Regions from separate parts of the Homo sapiens genome. Here regions 1, 2, 3, 4, 6 and 7 are each linked to region 5. The links are contacts of gene promoters, found by promoter capture Hi-C in blood cells and fetal thymus (Javierre and others, 2016). All regions are on one chromosome and are shown on one strand. The core of a region is centred on a gene start or on the middle of the fragment in contact, and the rest is flanking DNA. Distances in the headings are between cores, read along the strand shown. Region 1 holds the start of NEMP2 (nuclear envelope integral membrane protein 2). Region 2 overlaps MFSD6 (major facilitator superfamily domain containing 6). Region 3 has its middle 15 kb from the start of MFSD6. Region 4 overlaps HIBCH (3-hydroxyisobutyryl-CoA hydrolase). Region 5 holds the start of ASNSD1 (asparagine synthetase domain containing 1). Region 6 overlaps NEMP2 (nuclear envelope integral membrane protein 2). Region 7 overlaps INPP1 (inositol polyphosphate-1-phosphatase).

Evidence for each region. The method cuts DNA at HindIII sites, captures the fragments that hold promoters and counts their contacts. A CHiCAGO score of 5 or more calls a contact.
Region 1: the fragment with the promoter of NEMP2 here is called in contact with the fragment with the promoter of ASNSD1 in region 5 in 2 of 17 cell types (fetal thymus and total B cells); the score reaches 7.5 in fetal thymus.
Region 2: a fragment that was not itself captured here is called in contact with the fragment with the promoter of ASNSD1 in region 5 in 3 of 17 cell types (total B cells, total CD8 T cells and fetal thymus); the score reaches 6.4 in total B cells.
Region 3: a contact is called between a fragment that was not itself captured here and the fragment with the promoter of ASNSD1 in region 5, in 1 of 17 cell types (neutrophils). The highest score is 5.3, in neutrophils.
Region 4: a fragment that was not itself captured here is called in contact with the fragment with the promoter of ASNSD1 in region 5 in 2 of 17 cell types (neutrophils and M0 macrophages); the score reaches 6.9 in neutrophils.
Region 6: a fragment that was not itself captured here is called in contact with the fragment with the promoter of ASNSD1 in region 5 in 2 of 17 cell types (naive CD4 T cells and fetal thymus); the score reaches 7.4 in naive CD4 T cells.
Region 7: a contact is called between a fragment that was not itself captured here and the fragment with the promoter of ASNSD1 in region 5, in 6 of 17 cell types (neutrophils, naive B cells, total CD8 T cells and 3 more). The highest score is 10.2, in neutrophils.

The regions. Positions count from the first base shown.
Region 1 is chr2:190,533,206-190,536,281 of GRCh38, forward strand. It overlaps NEMP2 (nuclear envelope integral membrane protein 2), which reads right to left and starts at 1,517. Exons shown (of 9, transcript NM_001142645.2): 1 at 1,354-1,517. The coding sequence starts at 1,450. It overlaps NEMP2-DT (NEMP2 divergent transcript), which reads left to right and starts at 1,633. Exons shown (of 5, transcript NR_183903.1): 1 at 1,633-1,916. RefSeq lists a silencer at 1,181-1,830. The HindIII fragment of the contact is 6,238 bases long and covers 1-3,076 here.
Region 2 is chr2:190,413,802-190,417,154 of GRCh38, forward strand. MFSD6 (major facilitator superfamily domain containing 6) reads left to right here. Exons shown (of 8, transcript NM_017694.4): 2 at 1,491-1,612. Among named protein-coding and RNA genes, the nearest start is that of MFSD6, 7.1 kb to the left of the region's middle. The HindIII fragment of the contact is 1,692 bases long and covers 528-2,219 here.
Region 3 is chr2:190,391,553-190,394,781 of GRCh38, forward strand. No RefSeq gene overlaps it. Among named protein-coding and RNA genes, the nearest start is that of MFSD6, 15 kb to the right of the region's middle. The HindIII fragment of the contact is 898 bases long and covers 1,352-2,249 here.
Region 4 is chr2:190,274,130-190,277,390 of GRCh38, forward strand. The region is part of intron 6 of HIBCH (3-hydroxyisobutyryl-CoA hydrolase); the gene reads right to left. Among named protein-coding and RNA genes, the nearest start is that of HIBCH, 44 kb to the right of the region's middle. The HindIII fragment of the contact is 624 bases long and covers 1,473-2,096 here.
Region 5 is chr2:189,659,838-189,663,216 of GRCh38, forward strand. It overlaps ASNSD1 (asparagine synthetase domain containing 1), which reads left to right and starts at 1,622. Exons shown (of 6, transcript NM_019048.4): 1 at 1,622-1,773. It overlaps ASDURF (ASNSD1 upstream open reading frame), which reads left to right and starts at 1,622. Exons shown (of 4, transcript NM_001353493.2): 1 at 1,622-1,773. The coding sequence starts at 1,684. RefSeq lists an enhancer at 1,680-1,869. The HindIII fragment of the contact is 6,437 bases long and covers 1-3,379 here.
Region 6 is chr2:190,513,916-190,516,974 of GRCh38, forward strand. It overlaps NEMP2 (nuclear envelope integral membrane protein 2), which reads right to left. Exons shown (of 9, transcript NM_001142645.2): 6 at 2,355-2,469; 7 at 538-763. Among named protein-coding and RNA genes, the nearest start is that of NEMP2, 19 kb to the right of the region's middle. The HindIII fragment of the contact is 603 bases long and covers 1,418-2,020 here.
Region 7 is chr2:190,360,468-190,363,761 of GRCh38, forward strand. It overlaps INPP1 (inositol polyphosphate-1-phosphatase), which reads left to right. Exons shown (of 7, transcript NM_001128928.2): 4 at 2,160-2,220. Among named protein-coding and RNA genes, the nearest start is that of INPP1, 19 kb to the left of the region's middle. The HindIII fragment of the contact is 960 bases long and covers 1,524-2,483 here.

The sequences.
Region 1 (3,076 bases), core at 267-2,766, 870 kb after region 5:
AGGAATGAGTGGTCTAGAACCCAAGGTGCTGGGTGCTGGTCTAAGGCTACTTCTAATTTTCTCGCTGTTGCCATGCCCAGAAACCTTCCTGCTTAGACAGATTTGTGTTTTATTTTTTCACCAGCATAAAATTGTTGTATTTCTTACTACCAAACCTTCGTTTTCTCATCTGTAAAATGGGTATAAAATGGTGCTTTCCCGCATAGGGCTTCTATGGGTATTAAATATGATAGATACTGCAGTTAAAGCACTTATAACACTGCCTAGCACATACTGAACACTCAAAAAATTTCTCTTCAATGAAAACTGGAATCCAACACTTCCCCAACATATAACTCACTGCAAGATTCCCTCAGTTGGGAGCTGTGGCAGAATCTGATAATGACCTCATCAACATCCAGTCTCTCATTCATCCTTAGATAAAAAACCGCGGTATAACCGGAGGGAGGGCCATGCCCAGCTAAAAGAATACACTTGGCAGCCTCCCTTGAAACCAGGGTAGCCAAAGCAAGGAAGGGAAGTTGGTAGACAGTGCACCCAGGAAATCTTTTAAAAGATTTTATGAGGGGAAAAAAAAAAAGAAACAGAAATGTGAAGCTCATGGTAAGTTAGCGGCAGGTCTGGAGTTGGAACTCTAGGTTTCTGACTTCCCCAGGTGTCCTTCCCAGATCCTTCCCCAGTGTGCCAGCATCTTAAGCCCACTCCGTGGCGAGCCCCTACAGCTAGCAGCCGCTACCAGTTCTTGCTTCCTGTGTGCCAGGCATTGTGCACACGAACACCACAAGAACCTTGTGAGGCCTCATTACCTGCCGCTCACGTGGGACCGTTATGTTTACTCGCTCAAGGTCACAACAGTCAGGGGCAGAAGAATTTTCGCTCCGATTCTGAAGCTGAAGCTGTTACCTTCTCTAGTCTTGAGACCAAAGGAATGCGAGATAGTGAAATAACAAGGATTTCAACACGCATTGATGTACTGTACAAAAGGCCGTGTGCTGAAAGTCTGGAGACTAGGGTCAGCTGTGCCAGTGACAAGCTGTGTGACCCTGGGCAAATCAAAACCTCTCTGAGTTTCGGTTGCTTCTGTAAAACGAGGGAATTGGGCGACTGGATCGCGCGGTTGCTTCTAATTCTAAAATTACAAAATGTCCAACTGCCAGGCGAGAGACTACGGAAGCCCAGTAAGACAGGAAGGGCGGGCGGGGCCTGCCCGGGAGACCCCAAAGCGAGAAAAGGGAGCGCCCGCCCCAGTGGGCCTCGCGGTGCCGCCCGGGCCAAAGAGCGCGCCCTCAGGGCAGCCGCGAAGCCGGGGAGCGAGCACGCACGCGCGCGCCGCCGCCGCCGGTCCCGGGTTACCTGATAACGCTGCCGCCGCCGCCTCCCCGCGCACGGGCAGTGTGGCCAGGGGCGGCAGCCAGAGCAGCAGCCACCACCGCCCTTGGCGCGGCCCCATTTCGTTAGGGGTCAGCTCCGTGCGACCCGAGCCCTAGGGGACCGGCTCCGCTGCGAGGAGCGGAAGTGGCGCGGGGGCTCAGAGAAGGCGGAGGGGGCGGTGAGGCCCGAACGCGGGAAAGGCGGAGACCCCGCCTCCCCGGGGCGGAGGGAGAGTTGGGCTCGTTGCTCCAGCCTCCGCCCGCGGCCTCGGGGCACGGCGGGCCCAGGCCGGAGGAGCTTTCGGTGGCGCGACCCCGCTGGCATGCTCCCGGCCTCGGCCTCGGCCTCGGCCTTGGCCTCCGGGCCTCCAGCGCACGCGGGGCGTCCAGGGCCTCATCTTCCCCTGGGGACCGCCCGGCCGTGTCCCGCTGCCCTCGGCGCAGGGGTGGGAGTTGCAGAGAGGAAGAGTCGCTAACCCGGAGTGTTTCTTAAAACTTGGCTGACCTGTGACCTGCGGATTTGGAGGCTGAATTCTCCGAGCACCTGTGAGTGACAGCCCGTGAATGGGAAGGTCCTTCGGCAAACGCCCTTTTTGTGAATAAAATACATAAAAGCCAGTTTCTTTATTTTACCTTTCTGTTTATCTTTTTACTTTCATTTGGTAACAAGCAATAACAAATTGGAAATTTGGCCGCTTAAGTAACACTGACTTGTATGTCTAATCTCGGACACGGCATTTCAGAGTACAGAGGGGCTCGTAAAATGTTCCTTCACCAACATGACAAGGTTCTCTTAAAATTACCTTATGTTAAAAAAAAGTTTCTTAATGTAATAGATATATTTTTAAATTAACATATAACCTGAATGATCTTAATACTGATAATTAGGAGATATACATATATTTTAAAGAACATTCCCTCCACAGGACCTGGAACCCATTAATTTGACTCAATATTCCATACTTAACTAGGACAGTCTTCTCTAATTCTGGTCTTTTGGTGAGATATCTTAGAGAACCCAAAGTAACAGAAATTATCCTGTTAAAAATAGATAAGCCTCATTTTTCCTAAAAGTCTGAGTAGGATGGACTAGGCTTTCCTTGCCCTCAAAGAAAGGTTTAACCAACTGCCCTTAAGCACTTGGCACCATGTGTACACCATGTATGGCTTTTAAAAAGTTAAGAAATTTCCTTGTAAGGGACTCTTCAGAGGGATGGTTTTTAAAAATAAACCATCATTACTTGAGTGAAGCCTGTCTTCAGAGAAACAGCAGAGCCCTGATCCAATTCTTTCCTGTATTCCCAGGTGCGGTGTGCACTTGCTTCTTGCAAGACAGCTTTTGTACCTAACCACATTCATTTTGATTTGGTTTAATTTTGGATGGCACTATGGAAAGTAGCTAAAATAAACAGGTGGGTTGTTGAATGATGAATGTATTTTCTACAGATATATCTGGTGGAGAAACAAAAGGGCAGGCAGCAATGTACTAAATATTTAAAGTGCTATTTATATCACAGATCCTTAGTAAATATCTGTAAAGAAGCTATATTGAAACACCACATTTTTCTCTATAAGCAATAAATATTTTTCCGGAGATAACAAGAATGTTAGGAGGTGATAGTTCTGTCACTGGGGGACAATCATGAAATTCCACTTAACCTCTCCAAACTTTTCTTCTGTATGAAAACCTTATCCACTGGGGGAAG
Region 2 (3,353 bases), core at 124-2,623, 750 kb after region 5:
ACCAATGTACCATGAGCCCTGCTATACTGTGGGGTGAAGAGGAGACATGGCAGTCAGGGCCCAGGATTCCAGGAGAAACTGAGCACTGGAGCAGTGGCAGGAGTGGGTCCCTGTGAGTCACGCTGGGAATTCTTAACTGTTCAGGGCACTTTTAGGGACAAAGTTAAGGTAGAACATACTTGGCCTCAAGGTACTTGGCTCAAGGTAGAGCAAAGGAGGAAGGCACCACACCAAACACATAAAGCAGAATCATACAAAGTGACATGCATGCTGCCTATGACTTTTAAGAAGTACTGTGTTCCTGGGGCCTGTCTGGGGGGTTGGGTGGCAGGGGGAGGGAGAGCATCAGGATAAATAACTAATGCATGTGGGGCTTAATACCTAGATGATGGGTTGGTAGGTGCTGCAAACCACCATGGCACACGTTTGCCTATGTAACAAACCCACATGTCCTGCACATGTGTCCTGGAACATAAAATAAAGAAGCGCTGTGTTCTTGATTAACGTGCTCCAATCCAGCAAAGGCAAGCTTCTTTAGCTATTATGGAGTGCCTTTCTTAATTCTATTTCAAAATCATGCCTGTGCAATTGTGTTTAACTAATGAACAAATATGCCCCAATTCACATTTATAAGGGAGTTTAAATAAAAGACTTTATTATGATTCTTTTGAATGAGTAAACATGACACATTTCAATTTTATTTTCTGTGTAATGAGGCTCCCTGTAAAAGGTGTGCATATCTTTTAAGAGTGTCTCAAAGTCCTTGTGACAGTCCCTTTCAATTCCGTATACTGGGAAGCACAAGGCATTAGATGAATGATCAGACCTCAATTTAATAACTCTATAATTTTTCAGGAACTCCGGGAACAAGGACATCCTAATTGTCACTCAAATGTTTTATATTTAAAATAATTCCTTTTTAAATATGTATTTTTAAAGTGATAAATAATGATTTTTTAAAAATCCAGCCAAGTATAAGAAAAAAATTAAATAAGTCCTAATTTTACTACTCAGAGATAATCCCTGATAACACTTTGGTGTCATTTTTATCGAGTCTTTTTCTAAAATACATTTTATTTGAGCTACATAGATTTACAAATATAAACTGTACTATATCGAGAGGTTTGTGTCCTGCTCTTTCATTTAACATGATGCATTTTACCATGTAGTTAAGTTCTATTTTCCCATGATATGGATATAAGATTTTATTTTTCTCTATAGCTTATTTACCTATTTTCACCATAACTTATTTAACTGTCCTTATTATTGATCACTTACTTTGTTTCAGTTGTGATTGTTGTGAAAAGTGTTGCAATAAAAATCTTTACATTTAAGTCTTTGCTTTTCAGAAAGTTTATGTTTTTACTCTCAGTGAATGACAATGCCTGTCAATTCTCATACTCACCAGCATTGAATATTTCCATTTTAAAAATTATTGGTATGGTATGTATGTTAAAGTATCTATCTTTTTTATTTTTATTTATTTACAGACAGGATCTCTCTCAGTTACCCAGGCCGGAGTGCAGTGGCGTGATCCTAGCTCACTGCAGCCTTGAACCCCTGGGCTCAAGTGATTCTCCTGCCTTGGCCTCCTGAATAGCTAGAACTACAGGTATGAACCACCATGCCTGACTCATTAAAAAAAAATTGTAGACATGGGATCTTGCTTTGTTGCCCATGCTGGTCTTAAACTCCTGGCTTCAAGTGATCCTCCCGCCTCTGTCTCCCAAAGTGCTGGGATTACGGATGTGAGCCACTGTGCTCAGCCACTTTTTTATTTTATGGGCTAAGTAATAAACCTTTTTCTGAAACTAATTATATCATTAGAATTGATAGCTTATGGTAATTCTCAAGTTATCAGAACCCTAACAGCAAAATAAAACAATTTTAGATTACATATATGGGAAGGTACTAAGGATATAAATTATTCTTTTAGACTATAGCACATTTAGGGGATGTAAGTAAAAATAACTGATGATAGTCCAGGGCTATAGGAAAATGTATTATAAACCTTGAGATCTATATTCTGGTCTCAATTGTAAACTCATAAAAGGTCTGAGAAAGAAGCACCCATACATTTCTGTTTAAACTGCCTTGTCTCGTGTATAGATTGTGCTTTATTTAACCCTCTTAACTTCCTCAGTGTCTAATAGTGTTAGAATAGCTCTGTAATGTGAACTGTTACTTTTTCCTCCCGCTGGGCTTGTTCTAAGACAGGAAGCTTATTTGAAAGGTAGAAGGAAATGAAGTTCTGGGGCCTGCTTCAAATTTATATTATAAATTATGCTATATTGGCACAATATTTAATCAGGAGTCTAAAACTAATAAGTAGGAATCTGCTTCATGATGGCTGATAAGGTCTGAGGAACCTAAATTATAAATTTTTAATTGACATTTGATTATTTTCTTCCACAAAGTGAAAGTGAAAATCTAGTTGGTCTTTATTACTAAAGTCATCTTTATGGTTATAAGCTATTTCCTCCAACCCTTAAGAGATCAAAATAATTTGTTCCTTTTTCACCCTGTTAGCAAGTTGAAAGGAAATGTTAGAGAGGATTTCAGGTCCTTTCTTTCAGATTTATGATGTTACAAATATAAGTAAAATGTTTCTACAGAATATTTTATTTTAAGTGAATAGTTATTTCTTTCCTGGAGATAATGAATTATCATTCCAGTCCATATTACAATAGTGTGTTCTCCAGTGAACCAGTGCCTCACAGGCCCCCATCAGGCTGTAGACATGAAAACAGACATGAACATAAATTCATGAGCACAGATGGATGAAATACTAGCCTAGTTCAAGGGTGGTGCCAAATAATTCTGGGAAAAGTGCTTTTGGCATAATTGCAAAATAAGACCCAGAGTTTTAATGAAATATCTGGAATAAAACTACAACTACCAGCAACACCAAATGTTCATATGTTGCTTTTAGATTAACAGAATGCTTTCTCATACTTTATTTCATTTAAGCTCTAGAATCCTTCTGGGAGTTAATTGACTTAAGTTTGTATGGAAAAGGAGGCTTAAAGAGGCACTGATTTATCAAAGCCAGGGGGATGCAACTGGGACTTCTTTTGACTCTACTTCCTAAAATGAATTTTTGATCACATTAAACTTTAATAAAAATTTATATGTTTATTGTCATCAGGTGCTTGTCAAAATAAACAGTATTGAGAGCTTACAGGGGTAAAGGGCAATATGTTATGTTCTAGATTCCTCCCTCGAGGGGTATACAGTCTTGTTGGGCAAACGAGATATCTGTAAAAAGATAGCAATAAAATTACCTATAAATCCTACAGTAGATGTGAGAACAATCTCTAGAAGTAGAGGAAGGAGTGAGGAAAATGTTTCAA
Region 3 (3,229 bases), core at 551-3,050, 730 kb after region 5:
CACATAAAGTATACAACTTGGTAAGTTTTACCCCTGAAACAATCACCACAATCAAGGTAAGGAACATATCTATGATGCTCCAAAATTTCCTCATGCCCCTTCGTAATTTTTCTCTCTTTCCCCTCCCTACTCTACCCTGACCTCCATTCCTGGGGAACCACTGATCTGTTTTCTGTTCCTACAGATGAGTTTGCATTTTCTAGAGTTTTATAAATGGAATTATACCGGACTCTTTTTTGGGATGTAGTGGTGTCTGGCTTTCTCCACTGATGATAACTATTTTTATATTCATCTGTGTGTGTTTGTTTATTCGTTAATGCACTCATCAGTAGCTTGTTCTTTTTATTTCTGAGTATTATACTGTATGAATATACAATTTGCTTATCCATTCACATGTTGGTGGACATTTGGCTTGTTTCTAGTTTTTGGCTATTACAAATAAAGTTGCTATGTACATTCATACATGTCTTCATGTGAACATATGCCTTCATTTCTCTTGGGGATATACCTGGGAGTGGAATAGCTGGGGTAGATTTATGATTAACTTTTCAAGAAACTGCCAAATTATTTTCCAAAGTGGTAGAATCACCAGCTTTGTCTGAGGTTCCATTTGTTCCACATTCTCTTCATCACTTGGTATGCTGCTTTTTATTTACCTATTTCTTTATTCACCTATTCTTCTTCATATGTACCGGTATCTCACTGTGGTTTTGACATGTTTCCCTAATGTAGGTTTCTTACCTTTATCACTATTGACATTTTGGACCAAACAATTCTTTGTGGGGAGGGGACACTGCCAAATGTATCTCCAGACACTGCCAAATGTATCTGGCATGTAGAGGCAAAATTGTGCCCAGTTTAAAATACTGCTCTAATGACCACTGATAATGAACAACTTTTCATGTGCTTATTTGCCATCAATATGTTTTCTTTGGTAAAGTGTCTTTTTATTGCTAAGTAGTATTCTACTGTATGAATATACAATTTGCTTATCCATTCACATGTTGATGGACATTTGACTTGTTCCCAGTTTTTGGCTATTACAAATAAAGTTGCTATGTACAATCATATACGTCTTCATGTGAATTTGAAAAAATTTTGTTCATTTTTAAACAAAAGAATAAAATTTGTTGTTTGTCTTATTACTGTTGAGTTGTGAGAGTTCTTACATATTCTACATAAAAGTCATTTGTTGGATATATGTTTAAAACTAATTTCTCCCTTTTTGTGCCTTGCCTTTTCATTTTTATAACACTGTATTTTGAAAAGCAAACATTCTTAATGCTGATGAAGTCCAATGTATTGATTATTTTCTTTTCATACTTTTGTGTTTTTATATCCTATTTAAGAAAGCTTGACAAAGGTAACAAGTTTTCCCCTGTGTTTTCTTCTGGGAATCTGATGGTTTCAGCTATTATATTTAGGTCAATAATTTTTTTGCACAATTTTTTAGATAGGGGTCTTGCTATGTTGCCCAGGCTGGTCTCAAATTACAGGGCTCAAGCAATCCTCCCAGCTCAGCCTCCCAGGTAGCTGAGATTACAGGCACATGTCACTGCTCCAGCTCTCAGTTAATTTTCATATATGGCATGAGGTAAAATTGAGCTTTACTTTTTAAATAAGAATATCCATTTGTCCCAGCACTTATGTTGAAAACATTATCTTTCTCTATTGAATTGCGTTGGTAGCTCTGTTGAAAATCAATTGACCATATATATTTGTAAGTCTGATATCTGGACTCCCTGTTCTATTCCATTGATCTCTTTGATTGTCTTTATAGTAATATTACAGTATCTTGATTACTGTAGGTTATAATAAGTTTTGAATTTGGGCAGTGTATGTCCTCCAACTTTGACCTTTTTCAAAGTTTCTTTGAATATTCTAGAACATTTGAATTCCTTTTTTCTTTTTTTTGTTAGGATCTCGCTCGTCACCCAGGCTGGAGTGCAGTATAGCGATCACAGCTCACTGCAGCCTCAACCTCCCAGGTTCAAGCAATCTTCCTACCTCAGTTTCCAGAGTAGCTGGAACTACAGGTGCATGCTACCATGCCCAGCTAATTTTTAAAGTTTTTTGTGGAGACAGGGTCTCCCTATGTTGCCCAGGCTGGTCTCAAACTCCTGGACTTCAGCAGTCCTCCTGCCTCAGCCTCGTAAAGTGCTGGGATCACAAGTGTAAGCCACCACACCTAGCTGACCCTTTGAATTTCTATGTACATTTTAGCATCAGTTTGTCAATCTCTACAAATAAGCTTGCTGGGATTTTGATTGGGATTGTGTTTAATCTATAAATTGGAAAAGAAATGGCAAGCCTATAATCCCAGTACTTTGGGAGGCCGAGGTGGGCGGATCACAAGGTTAGGAGTTCGAGACTAGCCTGGCCAATATGGTGAAACCCCGTCTCTACTAAAAATACAAAAATTAGCCAGGCTTGGTGGCATGCGCCTGTAGTCCCAACTACTCAGGAGGTTGAGGCAGAAGAATCATTCGAACCTGGGAGGTGGAGGTTACAGTGAGCCGAGATTGTGCCACTGTGCTCCAGCCTGGTTGACACAGCAAGACTCCGTCTCAAAAAAAAAAAAGAAATGGCATTTTAAATAACATTTAGGCTTCTAATCGGGTAATATGATGAATCACTGCCATTTATTTAGGTTTTCTTTAATTTCTTTCAACTATAGTTTTTAGTGTACAGGTATTTTCGATACCATGTAAAATATGTTTTATAAATTTAAATTCGTGTTGTTTTTTGTCTATATAGAAAAGTACACTTGATTTTTAAATTGAATTCTGTATCTTGCAAACTTGATACTCTCACTTATTAGGTCTATTTGTTCTACAGACTTGTTTGTGGATTGTTGAGGATTTGCCACATAAACACATTATCTATGAATAAAGTTTTAGTTTCTCCTCATCTAGATGCTATTTATTTTTGCCTCATCACATGAAATAGAATCTCTAGTTCAATTTTGAAGAGACACTGGATTTTTATCAAATGTTTGTTCTATAGTATTGAGATGATAATATGATATTACCTTTTTGTTTTGTTAATATGGAAAATTACATTGATTTTTTAAGCTTCCATTCATGAGATAAACCCAGTGGATCATGATGTGTTATGCCTTTAAATATATTGCTGGATTCAACTTTGCTATAATTTGATTAAGAATTTTTACATCCGTGTGAGAGCTATTGGCCCTGACAGATTTTCTCATACTATCTTTGGTTTTGAG
Region 4 (3,261 bases), core at 535-3,034, 610 kb after region 5:
TGTTGTTATGAAAAACCCGGCACTTTATTATTTAATTAAAAAATGGTTTCTTAAAATGTCTTCTATTCAACTGTCACTAATAGCAAGAAACAGAACACCTTTTAAAACTGAAAAAAGGTACCCATTATGTCTAACAAGTCTTTGCAATATACTAACATAATTCAATCTTTGAGCACTGTTCATTCTTTTTATGAAAATAAGAACATGTCTTCAATGACATTAATCAGTGGATAAACATAATCTGATTCAGTAGTTCCCATTTAACAGAGCACTAGTCAACTTTCATGTGGGTAGTTTGTACTGCAATAAAGTCATTTGGGTAATGTATACGCTCATTATTTTTATTCCATTCCAATTCCCACTTCTCTAGTCATGACAACATGCTCTTTCTAAAATACACTTTAAAACTTAATTTTCTATTATTCATTGTGTGTGGTGGGGGAATTTTCCCTTTACCTTTCTGAGTTCTTAGCTGGGACTGCTCCAACAAGACAGACCAACAAGAGAAAAACAGTTTATTAACATGTATACCTCATGTATACACAGAAGATTATCCAGGGAGAAATAAAAACTCTCCAAGAGGGAGCCTAAAACTCCAGCTTACATAGCAACTTCAACTCGAAAGGATGTGAAGGAAGGTTACCACAAAAAGCATGGTAAATAAGAGAAACGATTGTTTTGCAGATTTATGTTGTTATCTCTGTTGATAGGAGTCTCTTGCAATTTGGTCATCCTTCTCTTCCCCAGAAAGGGAGACACTCTTACAAATAGAGATTTCCTTTCTAGGTACACATTTCTCTTACAAAAAGGTAACTTGTGCTGTTTTCAGAGATGATCCTGTATCTGCTGGTTCTCAAAATAATCTGCTCAAAATAATCATTATGCCAAAGTGGCATATTTAGGGTGGCATATTGTGGTCTCCTATAATCAAAAAACCCTCTCACTAGTAGCATCTTAAGAGCATTTTGAGAAACACAAAAACAATACCTTACTGTGCCATATTTTGAGTTAGGTTGGGGAACCAACTTCATTTCTATTCGAAAATGCAAGAGGTGGTGGAAAAAAAGGAAGACTAGGAGGGAGAGAGAGGAGGAGAGAAGAACCTAAAATGTTCTTTAAATCCAATTCAGTTGGGGAGGGAAACAGGAGTGGTACTACATGTATGAAACAAAAATTTAAGGATTGTCCTCTGTTCTATATCTACTTAATTTTATATTTAAACAAATCTGTAATTGTTATATTCAAGGAATCTTCAAAAAGTTCACGGAATATGCATTATTATGAAAAAACTATGCAAGAACTTCAAATTTTTTTGTATGAAAATCAACTCTTACTAATTTGTCATAACATACCAGAACAGGATCTAGCTTGAGGTCCTAAGAGGGATAGGACAGCAGTCTGAAAGGGCCCCTATCAGAGCAATATGAATTACGCTAAAATTGAAGCAAGAACAAATATCAAATTTATGGTAAAGCTTGTGTAGAAGAAAAGTAAAATCACTGGTGAGTTGTGAAAAGTTTGTGAGGAAAATGCCTCAAAGATATCAACAGTTTACAAATAGATAACTCTTTTAAAGAAGGCATGAGACAATGTTCAAGATGCCCACAGTGGCAGACCATCCACATCAATTTGTGAGGAAAAAATTTATCTTGTTCATGCCCTAATTGAAGATGATTGAGAGTTAATGGCATGAACAATAGCCAATGCCACAATTCTTTTATAATTGGTTCAGTTTACACAATTCTGACTGAAAAATTAAAGCTGAGCAAACTTTCCATCCGATGAGTGCCAAAACCATTGCATCCAGATCTGCTGCAGACAAGAACAGAGCTTTCAATGGAAATTTTAAGTAAGTGAGATCAAGATCCTGAAGCATTTCTTTGAAGAACTGTAACAGGAGATGAAACATGGCTTTACCAGTATGATCCTGAAGATAAAGCACAACCACAATGGCTACCAAGAGAGAGAAGTGGTCCAGTCAAAGCACAAGCAGACTGGTCAAGAGCAAAGGTTGGCAACAATTCTTTGGGACGCTCAAGGCAGGTTGCTGGTTGACTTTCTGGAACACCAAAGAACTATCATGAAAAGTTAGCCAAAGCTTTAGCGGAAAAAGGCCCAAAGTTTCATCAGAGACTCCTCATACACTATGTAAATGCCCCTACTTACTCCGCTCATCAAACAAGGGCAATTTTGAGAGTTTCAATGGGAAATTATTAGGCATCCACCTTATAGACCTGATTTGGCTCCTTCTTACTCCTTTATGTTTCCTAATTGATATAGATTGGATATCTGTCCCCTCCAAATCTCATGTTGAAATTTATTCTCCAACATTAGAGTTGGGGCCAAATGGAAGGTGTGGTCATGGGGGCAGATCCCTCATGAATGGCTTGGTACATCCCCACAGTAACGAATAAGTTCTCGCTCTATCAGTTCATACAAAAGCTGGCTGTTTAAAAGAATGTAGCACCTTCTCTCTTTCTCACTCCCTCTCTCGCTATGTGATATGCCAGCTCTCCTTCCCCTTCTGCTATAATTGGAAGTTACCTGAAGCCCTCACCAGAAGCAGATGCTAGTGCCATGGTTCTTGCACACCCTGCAGAACTGTGAGCCAAATAAAATACCCAGCCTCAGGTATTCTTCTATAGGAACCCAAACAGACTAACACACCAGTCTTTAAAAATCTGTAGATGGCACCCATTTTTCTTCAGTTACCAATATAAAAAACACTGCATTTGCATAGTTAAATTCCCAGGACCCTCAATTATTTAGGGATGGACTAAATGACTGGTATCACTGCTGACAAAAGAAGTACCTTAAATTTGACGGAGCTTATGTTGAGAAAAAAAGTTATTTTTATTTCTATCTTAATTAATTCCATTTTTCCACAAACTTTTTGACGTCCCCTCATATTAACTTAAGAAAATGCAACCCCAGATGTTTTATATAAATGGCAAAAGAGATAAAAAAATTTGTCTTCCCCAGAAACAGAATAAATTTAGTCATTTAAATATCTATTCATAAAAAAATTGTTTCTCTTTCAGAAACACTGGAATAATTTTACATAATTCTGATCTACCATGTGGAGAACCACTCAGTAACATTCATTTTTATTTTACTGTATTTCAAAATACTGAGTAAATGTTTGAATTTCTAAAATATTAAAGATACTGTGCTACTCTTCATGGTGGGTAACAAGAGAAAATAAAACTGTCATTTTCTATACTGGAAAAAATAAAACCTTCTATAACAAAAACAAAAGGA
Region 5 (3,379 bases), core at 372-2,871:
AAAGAGGTTATTGCTTCTGTCTTACAACTTCAATCTCAGGTCAAAAGTAAACACAAAACCACAAAAATTCACCAGTTCTTCTGCTTGAGCGGCCTTTATGTTAAAACAAACAAACAAAACCTTACTAGCCCACATCTCAAATAGCTGTCCTCCTTCCCTCTCAGTGGACACAAAAGTAATTAATTAATTTGAGCTCACAAACAATAAACAAAAAGACTTACAAACTCGCTTCTCTGTCACCTCTCTTATTTATTTATTTGAACCCCTGGCCTCAAGTAATCCTCCCACCTCAGCCCCGAGTGGTTGCGATTACAGGTTTGAGCCACTGCACCTATCTACCTCTCTACCAATGAGACTAGACGTCCATCATCCAACAGATACCACCAAATGGTTAGACCACAAAACCAAACTCCCAATCATTGCTGCTATCAATGTATCAGTAATGTATAAGTTATACCTGAATAACTTATCAGGAATGTACAAATCAGAAATGAAAACACAATCTTTAAAAATCAATTATAAAGGAAAAATATATAACCACTTGGGTTTTCTGTAAGAGCAAATAAAAAACATGCCTGGCCTTAAACAACCCATGATGTATACATTTCTTTCGCCAGATAGTTTGATTCATCACATAAATCCAGTTGGGCATCTCTGTGGAAACTTAAGATTTCCAATAATATAGTATAATTATCAAAAACCTAAAATCATGTCTCTAATGTGAACATAAAATATATACATGTCAAACTTTTATTCAACTCATTGGTTAGTGAGGGAACCGATGACTTTAAAACCAATACAGAATATTAGAGAAGCTAGGCATATGTTAATAAAGAAATGTTAGGACAGAATGCAGGGTTAGATACAAAACTGACTAATGTGTTGCAGAACAATAAATCATAACCTGTGTTGGTATCTGGTACAACAAAAAATTATTTGCATCTCTACCAAACCAAAATCTCTACCAAAGTTAACCTTTGCCCCTACAGAATTGTAAAACAGCCCAGTCAATATAATAAAGTCAAGTCCAGAGCAGCACTGAAAGAGCATCCAGTAAATAAATCTCTTTTGCCTATTTCCAAGTTTTAGTCATTTTTTCCACAGAAATGAGATATTGCAAATATTGCACGGGACATAGATGCACTAAAAAACTATTAATTCATCTGAAGTTCATACTGTATTTTATCCGGCAACCCTAACCACGAGTTAACCAAAACTTTACCAAGTCTGTACAGTTCTTTTGCCAACACGGTATCTCTTAAATCTGTTCCTTAGCTTCATCTTTCCCTAGATAATAAATATCATATTAAGCGCTGTTTCTATTGCACGACTATTCTTCATATTTACCACTGGAGGGCGCACAGAACTCGTAGTATACTAGATAAGAGGTCATGAAGAAACCACCTGAGCGTTTCTGCATCTCAACCACAAGAGGCCAGTACAGGAACCTCAGATTTTGCAACCAGACTGTTTACTCGCTCCCTAAGCAGCCATGCGCAGGCGCGAAACTCCTCCCCAGGCCAGACCCGGCCTGCGCATGCGTTCAAGTGAGCGCGCAGACGCTATTGGTAAGACTCGCGGGAAAAGAAAGGGTGAGCGCGGCTGGAAGCGCGCATGCGCTGTGGCTAATGCCGTAGGCTCCTTCAGGGCTGAGCCATCCCGCGTGTCTTGCGCTCGGTGGAAATGCCCAGCCGAGGGACGCGACCAGAGGACAGCTCTGTGCTGATCCCCACCGACAATTCGACCCCACACAAGGAGGATCTAAGCAGCAAGGTGAGTGTGAGACGCGACGAAAAGGCTCCTGGACTCGGGACCGGGCGCCACTGGACCCTGAAGGTGGTCCGCAGCGGGCAGCGTGGGGCCTGCCTGGGCCTCGGCTTTGCCCTGCTACTTTGCTCTTTTTATTCATAGCACTTGACAGCCACAGTTAGTCCTTTTATTTTCTGAAAACAGTTGCGAAAAGGGAGATCTTGAAATTTGTCCCGAGACTGGACCCAGGTGACAGTGGGGCGGAGTTTTGGTTGGGTGTTTTCCTCCCTAGTCTTTTTAAACTTTTGGAAATACCGCCCACCCCAAATCTGTTCCATCAAAGATATTCTCCATCCAGTTAACCATGCCAGCAACCCGGGGTCCATCCTTGACCCCCATCATGGAAGCCTATCAGTTCTACCTTTGAAGCTCATTTCAAATATGTCCCTTTATCACCGTGAACACTCTTACCACCCCAAATAAGCCACCGTCATCTGCTATCGGGACCCCTGCCCCCGGCAAGGCCTTCCTAAGCGGTCTCTCCTCATCCACCTGTTAGCTGCTGCTTCTCCGTTAACCAGAGCAATGGTCCTAAAACACGCATTGGGTTGTCACTCATACCAAACTGGGGGAGAGAGGAAGCCAATATAATATAAGCCTTAACTGCCATAAACAAACAACCTTTAAAGATAAATGGGGGTGGCGAGGGTTATAGCCCTTCAGGTATTACATGTCCTAGATTCTACTTTGGTTCTGTCCCAAACTTACAATGACATCTTGGGCAAGTCTCTTTAATCTTTCTGTATCAGTTACCTTCTTTGAAGTAAAGTGAAATGTACACCTGTCATTCCTAAAATGGGAAAGCCCTGTATAAATGTTAAGTCTCAAAGAATGTTTACAAATTTGGCCTTGGAATTCAACCTCATTACTACAGCTCTGCCAACGGGGGAGACAGAAAGGTGCACATTCATGGGGATTGGGGGTGAATTTTCAAAAGACACACAGCCCATTCTGATTACCACCATAGCAAGCCACTTACGCATACTGGTGGTTACAGATCCCTGAGGTGTGTGTGAGGTAGCACAAATATGATAAAAGCTGCTTTTAGAGGCTCTTGTGATACTATGTAATCAGTCATGTTCACAAAATAAATAGAGTTAAAAAGAAACTTAGTTTTCACTTAGTTGAGCCCTCCCCTACAAATAAATGAAGCCCAGGCCAGCATGGTGGCCCAGGCCTGTAGTCCCAGCTACTCGGAGGCTAAGGTGTGAGAATCGCCTGAGCCCGGGAAGATCAAAGCTGCAGTGAGCCGTGATCGCACCACTGCACTCCAGCCTGGGTAACAGAGCAAGACCCTGTTTCAAAAAAAAAAAAAAAAAAAAAGCCCAGTTCAACAGTGCCAGCTCTATGCTAGTCATTGAGATAAAAAGAGGGAAAAATACCAAGATGGAACATGATAGGTCTTACTGTCCCCAAATAGGGCATTGCTTGATTTGAATGTTTGACTGCAGCACTTAGTACATAAAATCATGAAAATATTGAAAAAAGTAACCCACCCCTCATTCAATTTGCTTTTTTTTAAATCTAAATCACAACTTAATTTTCAATCTAAATCACAACTTAATTCCTT
Region 6 (3,059 bases), core at 469-2,968, 850 kb after region 5:
TCAATGACTGAGGAGAAACATAACAAAGCTGTCACAATAGAGGTTACTTCATTTTTCTTTTTATACTCCAAAGGCCATAAGCCTTAACTAAAAACCTAAGAGAAAAGAAAGTCCTAAATACAAATAATACCTTTCAGTCATTTATGATTCATTTCTGTTTCCTAATTCGTATCTCATAAGCACAGCTGATACCACTAAAGCAGTCTTTGACTCTAATTAAAGAAAATGTTGAATAAAAGAAGATATTTTAGGTAACCCAGAGTCCAAGTACTTCTGCCATTGACTCTAGTGAATTCTGAGTGAGCTCTAATTACCTGGTAATTGGTGGTACAGCTCTCAACGATTAATGAAGACTAGCCATGAAGATGGGATCAGATGCTTGGAGCTCTCTACCCCTACACCCCCAATCTTGCTCAGAATGAAATCTCCAGATCAAATGTAATTATGAGATTAACATGATGTGTGCAAACACTCTCCCAAATAATAAAACTAGAGCTCAAAATGTCAAATTTGCTGGGGGAAAAAAATGATACATACCACCTCATATAACTGCATGCTCTCAGTGGGTAGTGCAGACTCCAGGAGGACATGAGGAGGATTATGGCTGCATAGGCAAACTGAGGCACGGCCACACCAGCATAGACCAGAACCAGGGAGAGGAGTCGCAGCATCCACATCAGAAGACTTCTGCTCCTGTCGTCTGCAAGGGGCCCATGCTTGTAACAAACAACAAAGCTGAAAAATCCAACTATCAAGACATAGCCTGGAAAAGTGGAAGAGGTAAAATAATATAAATTTGAATTTGAGACATTATGTGAAAAACCTGGCAGAGCCTTGACTTAAAGGTAAAAACTATTAGAGAACCTTAATTTTTGTGTTTTTTACCCCATAAAGTAAGGTTGAAAAATGCACATAGGGTGTTATTCCTTCCATATGAGATACTAGGCTGACTTTCGCAATAATTTGGGATGTACACTCATTATTATGATGATACATAAGTATGTCTGTGTTTTAGTCCAGCACCCTGGCTGGACTAAAATGTTATCATGGTTACTTTGGTCAGGAAGAAGTCACAGTTGTATGTCACCATTGGCTACAAACCCTATTTTTTATTTTTACCTTCTTGTCATGAAAGGAAAAGGTAATTTTACAGTGGAGGGAGTCACCCTCTGAATCCAATGTTCAGTCTCATCATTACGATGGTGAGACTATAAGCTATTCTGTGTCTCTGGGTATGATCCAAGGTGAAGTGCCCATCACCTCTTAGGTATTCTATCTTAAGTGTTTAATTTATATCTAACCAAGCCTTGAAGTCTAATTTCCAGTTTACAGAAAATACGCAGAAGAGAAGAATATGTTAAATTCTATCATAAAGGGGTCATCAGATAAATCTAGAAGGTGGAGATTCTACAGGACAAGCTTGGTTTCTTTAGCATATCACTATGATGAAAAAAGAACTGCTACGGATTAAAAGCAATTTACAGGACAAAACAGATACTAAATGTGGTTCTGGACCATATCCTAGTTTATATAAGCCATCAAGAATGGGAAATTTTTTCATGGCCTGGGTAATAGATGATTTTATGTAATTATTTTTCAGATAATAATTAACTGATTATATAGGAAAAGCCTCTTGTTTTTCAGAGAGGAATAGTGCAGTATTCAGGGGAGCATACCATGGTATCTGTAATTTAAAAGTAGCACAAAAAGAAGAACGAGCTAAAAATATACAATTTTCAAGTAAAACAACTTAATTGCTTTTGTTTTGAGGGAAGTGAACTTATGTGAGAAATTTGGTGCTAAAGGTTAGGAGAAAATTGATTCTCTCATTGTCCATTATTTTCTAGTTAAAATAAACAATAAAAACATTTATTTTGTAATGTAAAACAAGGAAAATAAATGGTTTCTTAGCCTCTGTGTTTCTGAAAAGGCAAGTTTTCATTAGTAATTTATAGTTAGGATTTCTCACCTTTCCTAATGAATACTTACGGGAAAGAAAGAAACAGCCACTTTTCAGAGAAGCTTTTACATTACCAGTTAGATGTGGTTAGAGCTTAACCACAATTCAGAAGCATGTGCATTCAAAAGGGACAAACACTTTTTTTTCCTCTTTTGATCATTACTACAGAAAACTAAGAAACATGTCATAGGGAAATCATCTAAAATGAGATCTAAATGAACTGAAATCAACAACAATGGGAATAAGATAAACAAAATATTATTTTTAGTAGCACCTTTCGTTAGTTCAAAATGAAAATTTAGATGTTGGAGAGAAACATCTATCAAAAGAAGGCCTCTAGTTGTACATCTCAGTTTTACCAATCACAGAGCATATTGTTTTTCTATTTACCTACCTAATACATATATCCTGTTTTCATACCACAGCCACTTCAGATCTTCCATCAACTGGCATACAATATAAACTGAGGCAAACCAACAACCAACCATTAGAGCCCAAAAGGTGCTATACTGTGTGTGGAAGAAAATAAATGACACATTTTTTGGTTCATTCACTCTCATAAAAATAAAAGCAAACAAATAAACCTTTTGTATTAGAAACTCCTACATCAAACTGATTTGAAGTCAATTTAAGAAACTCCCTAGGGTCTTAAGGTGTGGTCCACAAATCAGCAACACCGACATCACATGGAGCTTGCTGGGATGGCAGAGTCCTAGGCCCCACTGCAGACTGCTAAATCAGAACCTGCATTTCAACAAGATTCCCATCTAGCTTGCATGTACACTGAAGTTGGAGTTATAAGCACTGTTATAAAGAGTAAATTTATCTTAAAATAATGCTGCTGTTGCAAACTTTAATCAGTGTAACTGCAACACTACCAACATGAATTATTTATCCTCAACTAAGTTCAGTGTGTTATTTTATTGAAGGTGTAGCCGGGCACGGTGGCTCACGCCTGTATTTGCAGCTCTTTGGGAGGCCAAGGCAGGCAGATCGCTGGAGCTCAGGAGTTCAAGACCAGCCTGGGCAACATGGTGAAATCCTGTCTCTACAAAAAATACAAAAATTAGCTGGGCATGGTGGTGTGTGCCTGTAGTCC
Region 7 (3,294 bases), core at 754-3,253, 700 kb after region 5:
TTGATAAAATGTTCATTGCAGGAAATCTTTAAAATACAGAAAATGAAATAAGAAAATAAAAATCACTCACAATTCTAATACCTAGAAATAAACACTTCAGTATAGAACCTTCCACTTACTAATGAATTTCTTCTTAATAAATAATACATGTTTTCTGGAAAATAAGCAAAAATAAGAACCCTCTTAGTCCCACCACTGGAGAAAACCACAGCTATGCTTTGATAAATATTATAACATTTTCCTTCTATGTGTATGTGTGTACATGACACATACAATGTATTGCAACAGAAATAAGAGCACACTGCTTTGTAACCTGTTTTTTTTTTAACTTGATATGTTAAGTCCTACCTTGTGGATCTCATCATTTATCTAGTGGTTTCTTCAGTTATGAGATTGTAGCTGGAGACTTAAAGTCTCCTTTATTCTAGTAGAAAAATACTGTTCTTTGTTATAAACACACAAAGATGTTTATATGTTAATATAACAATGATTACGACTCTTTCTGGAGCTGACTAGAGAAACCGTATTAATAAGTAGAAATAATAATACTAGCAGCACTTATAAATGCTATGTGCCAGCCACTATTCTAAAGTCGTCGTTAAATATATTAACTTATTTAGCTCTTATAACAATTTGATGAAGAACTACTATTACAATGCAATGGGTGAAAAAAGGGAGGCACAGAGAGGTTAAGTAACTTGCCTAAGGTTGCACATCAAGTAAATGGTAGGGCCAGTTTTTGAACACAGGCAGACTGGCTCCAGAGTCTGTGTTCTTTGCAATATTATATTGCCTTTTATATGATAATCTAACCATTACATTTGGGAGAATAGAACTTTATGGCAGAAAGCATTATAAAATATTGAAATAATTTCTATGAAATTTTCAAAATATTGAGAATCATTTAGAATCGTTTCAGTGAAATCTTGACCACAGGCGAAGAGATGAAATGCCATCATGAAATCTCTACAAACTATACTTTTTCATGTCATATAAAATCTTGCTCCGATAAACTAAATGAAGCAAATTTATTTTTCTTTTTTACTTATCAATATAGTTGGGTGCAAGGGATGGTTGAGCAACTGGATTAAAAATGTATCAACATTAATTTTTATGGGCTAATATTTGCCTCAAAGCATTATAAAAATTTCAGGCAGTTGTTTATTCATGAGCTAAAATAAATGATATTCCATTTTAGCTGTATAAAATATCTTTATTTCATGAGGCTTTTGTCTTGTAATCTCAGAACTGGTCTTTAAGCAGGCTTGGGAGACTGAGTTTCAGCCCTTGATGAATGGGCTGGTTGCCAGCCCTTGTTGATTTGTACTGTCCCACAAAATAATATGAATAATAAGTGTTGTGGGCATTATTAAAGCTATTGGTCATCTGCAAATGACCGAGTTCAAATATTTGAAGCACGTCCTTGCTTTTGTTCCCTGAGAATATGTGTATCAAAATTTAGGACATATTTTGAGAAAAATTATCTTTATTACAGAGAGGATCAGAAGCAAAATGCATCAGAAAGCTTCGTGATCATACAGAGATGACAGAAGATTCTTACTTGACTCCATTTATTCACTCTATATATTGATACTTAAATTATTGGCCAATAAAATCTTTCTCTTTTTTCATATCCCCTTCCTAGCCTGAATGATGATACATCTGAGAGTGGGGAAACAAACGCCTGAAAATAAAAACAAAATCGAATGTTATCTATCCTCTAATTCCTTCTATCCAGTCTCAAGTCGTGCTTTTAGATACTTGATCAACGAAATTGCCTTGTATAAGCTACTGGGATGTTGTTTAAGAGCAATAGTTAAAACATGTCCTTTGCAAATATTCGAATTCTATGGCCCTTAAGTAGAAGGATGAAGTTTCTAGAAGTACTTTTGCAAACTAAACAGGACATAAGGGAACCAGGCATCTACCATGATTTTGACTTTCTAGAGGGGCAAAAGAACAGAAAAATATTAGAAAATTAAGCACTGAGCCAAGTTGACTTCGTTTTTTTATACTTGGATTGGTTTCTAGAATTGGAAATTTTGGAATTTCAGTTCTGATTGTGCTATTTAATTTGAAATATAAAATTGAAATCTGTTCAGAATTGAGCATATGTGTGGGTTTTTGTTTTGTTTTTCGTCATACTCTGAATCATTCAGTTTCCAGGCTTGGAAAAAAATATTTTTGGAGAAGAATCCAATGAGTTTACTAATGACTGGGGTAAGTATAAGAATCTTAATGTGTCTTTGTAATTTAATTATCATATGGTATTCTAGTCTCTAGTTTATACCATGAACTAAATGTTTGGAAGCCACTTACTGTAAACAACATAATATATTTGAATGTTAAGGTTCATTCAATTTCTACCTCAGAATATCATGCCATTTAACTTAAGTAGAGAGATGTGGTATCTTAGAATAATTTAGCAAGTCCATGTATCATTTTAGATATAAATCTGTGGCATTTAAGTAACTTATAACTCAAGCTTTGGGAAAATTGCATGGCCCTTTGGGAATCTAATGTAAGTTATTAATGCCCCAAAGATGCCCATCTACAAAATTATGCAGACAATTTCAGATCCTAGGTTTAAACCCATCTGTGCGCTCTTGGGGGAAGTCCATGGACCTTGGCTAAAAGTACAGAGGTGGCCATGGTTCTGAAATACTGTGTGATCTTGAGCAAATTAACTCATCATTTCTCTAAGTCTCAGAACCTCTGTGAAGTACTTGGATTAACTAAAAGATTCCTTTTAGTACTAAGTTTTTTGGTTTGTTTGTTTGTTTTTGAGACAGAGTTGCTCTGTTGCCCAGGCTGGAGTGCAGTGGCACAATCTCGGTTCACTGCAACCTCCACCTCCTGGATTCAAGCCATTCTCCTGCCTCATCCTCCTGAGTGGCTGGGATTACAAGCATGTGCCACCACACCTGGCTAATTTTTGTATTTTTAGTTAGAGATGGGATTTCACCATGTTGGCCAGGCTGGTCTCAAACTCCTGACCTCAGGTAATCTGATTTCTTTCAGAGAAACAATTTTTTTTTTTAGTTTGTTTGGATTTAATAGTAGAAGAATAAAATAGTGAACATTAAATACTGATCATGTGACAAATACTTATATATCTAGAAACACAATTACAAAGAAAAAATGAGTTTCTAGATTAACTCTGAAAATTTTTTAGTCTCCTTCATGCACCACATATTAAGATGCAGTTAGTTCTATGTTAGTAATACGGGAAAGAAATCTTTTAAACCTCTGAAGGTTAAAAATAACACTTATGCCTGACTTATAAGCAATCTT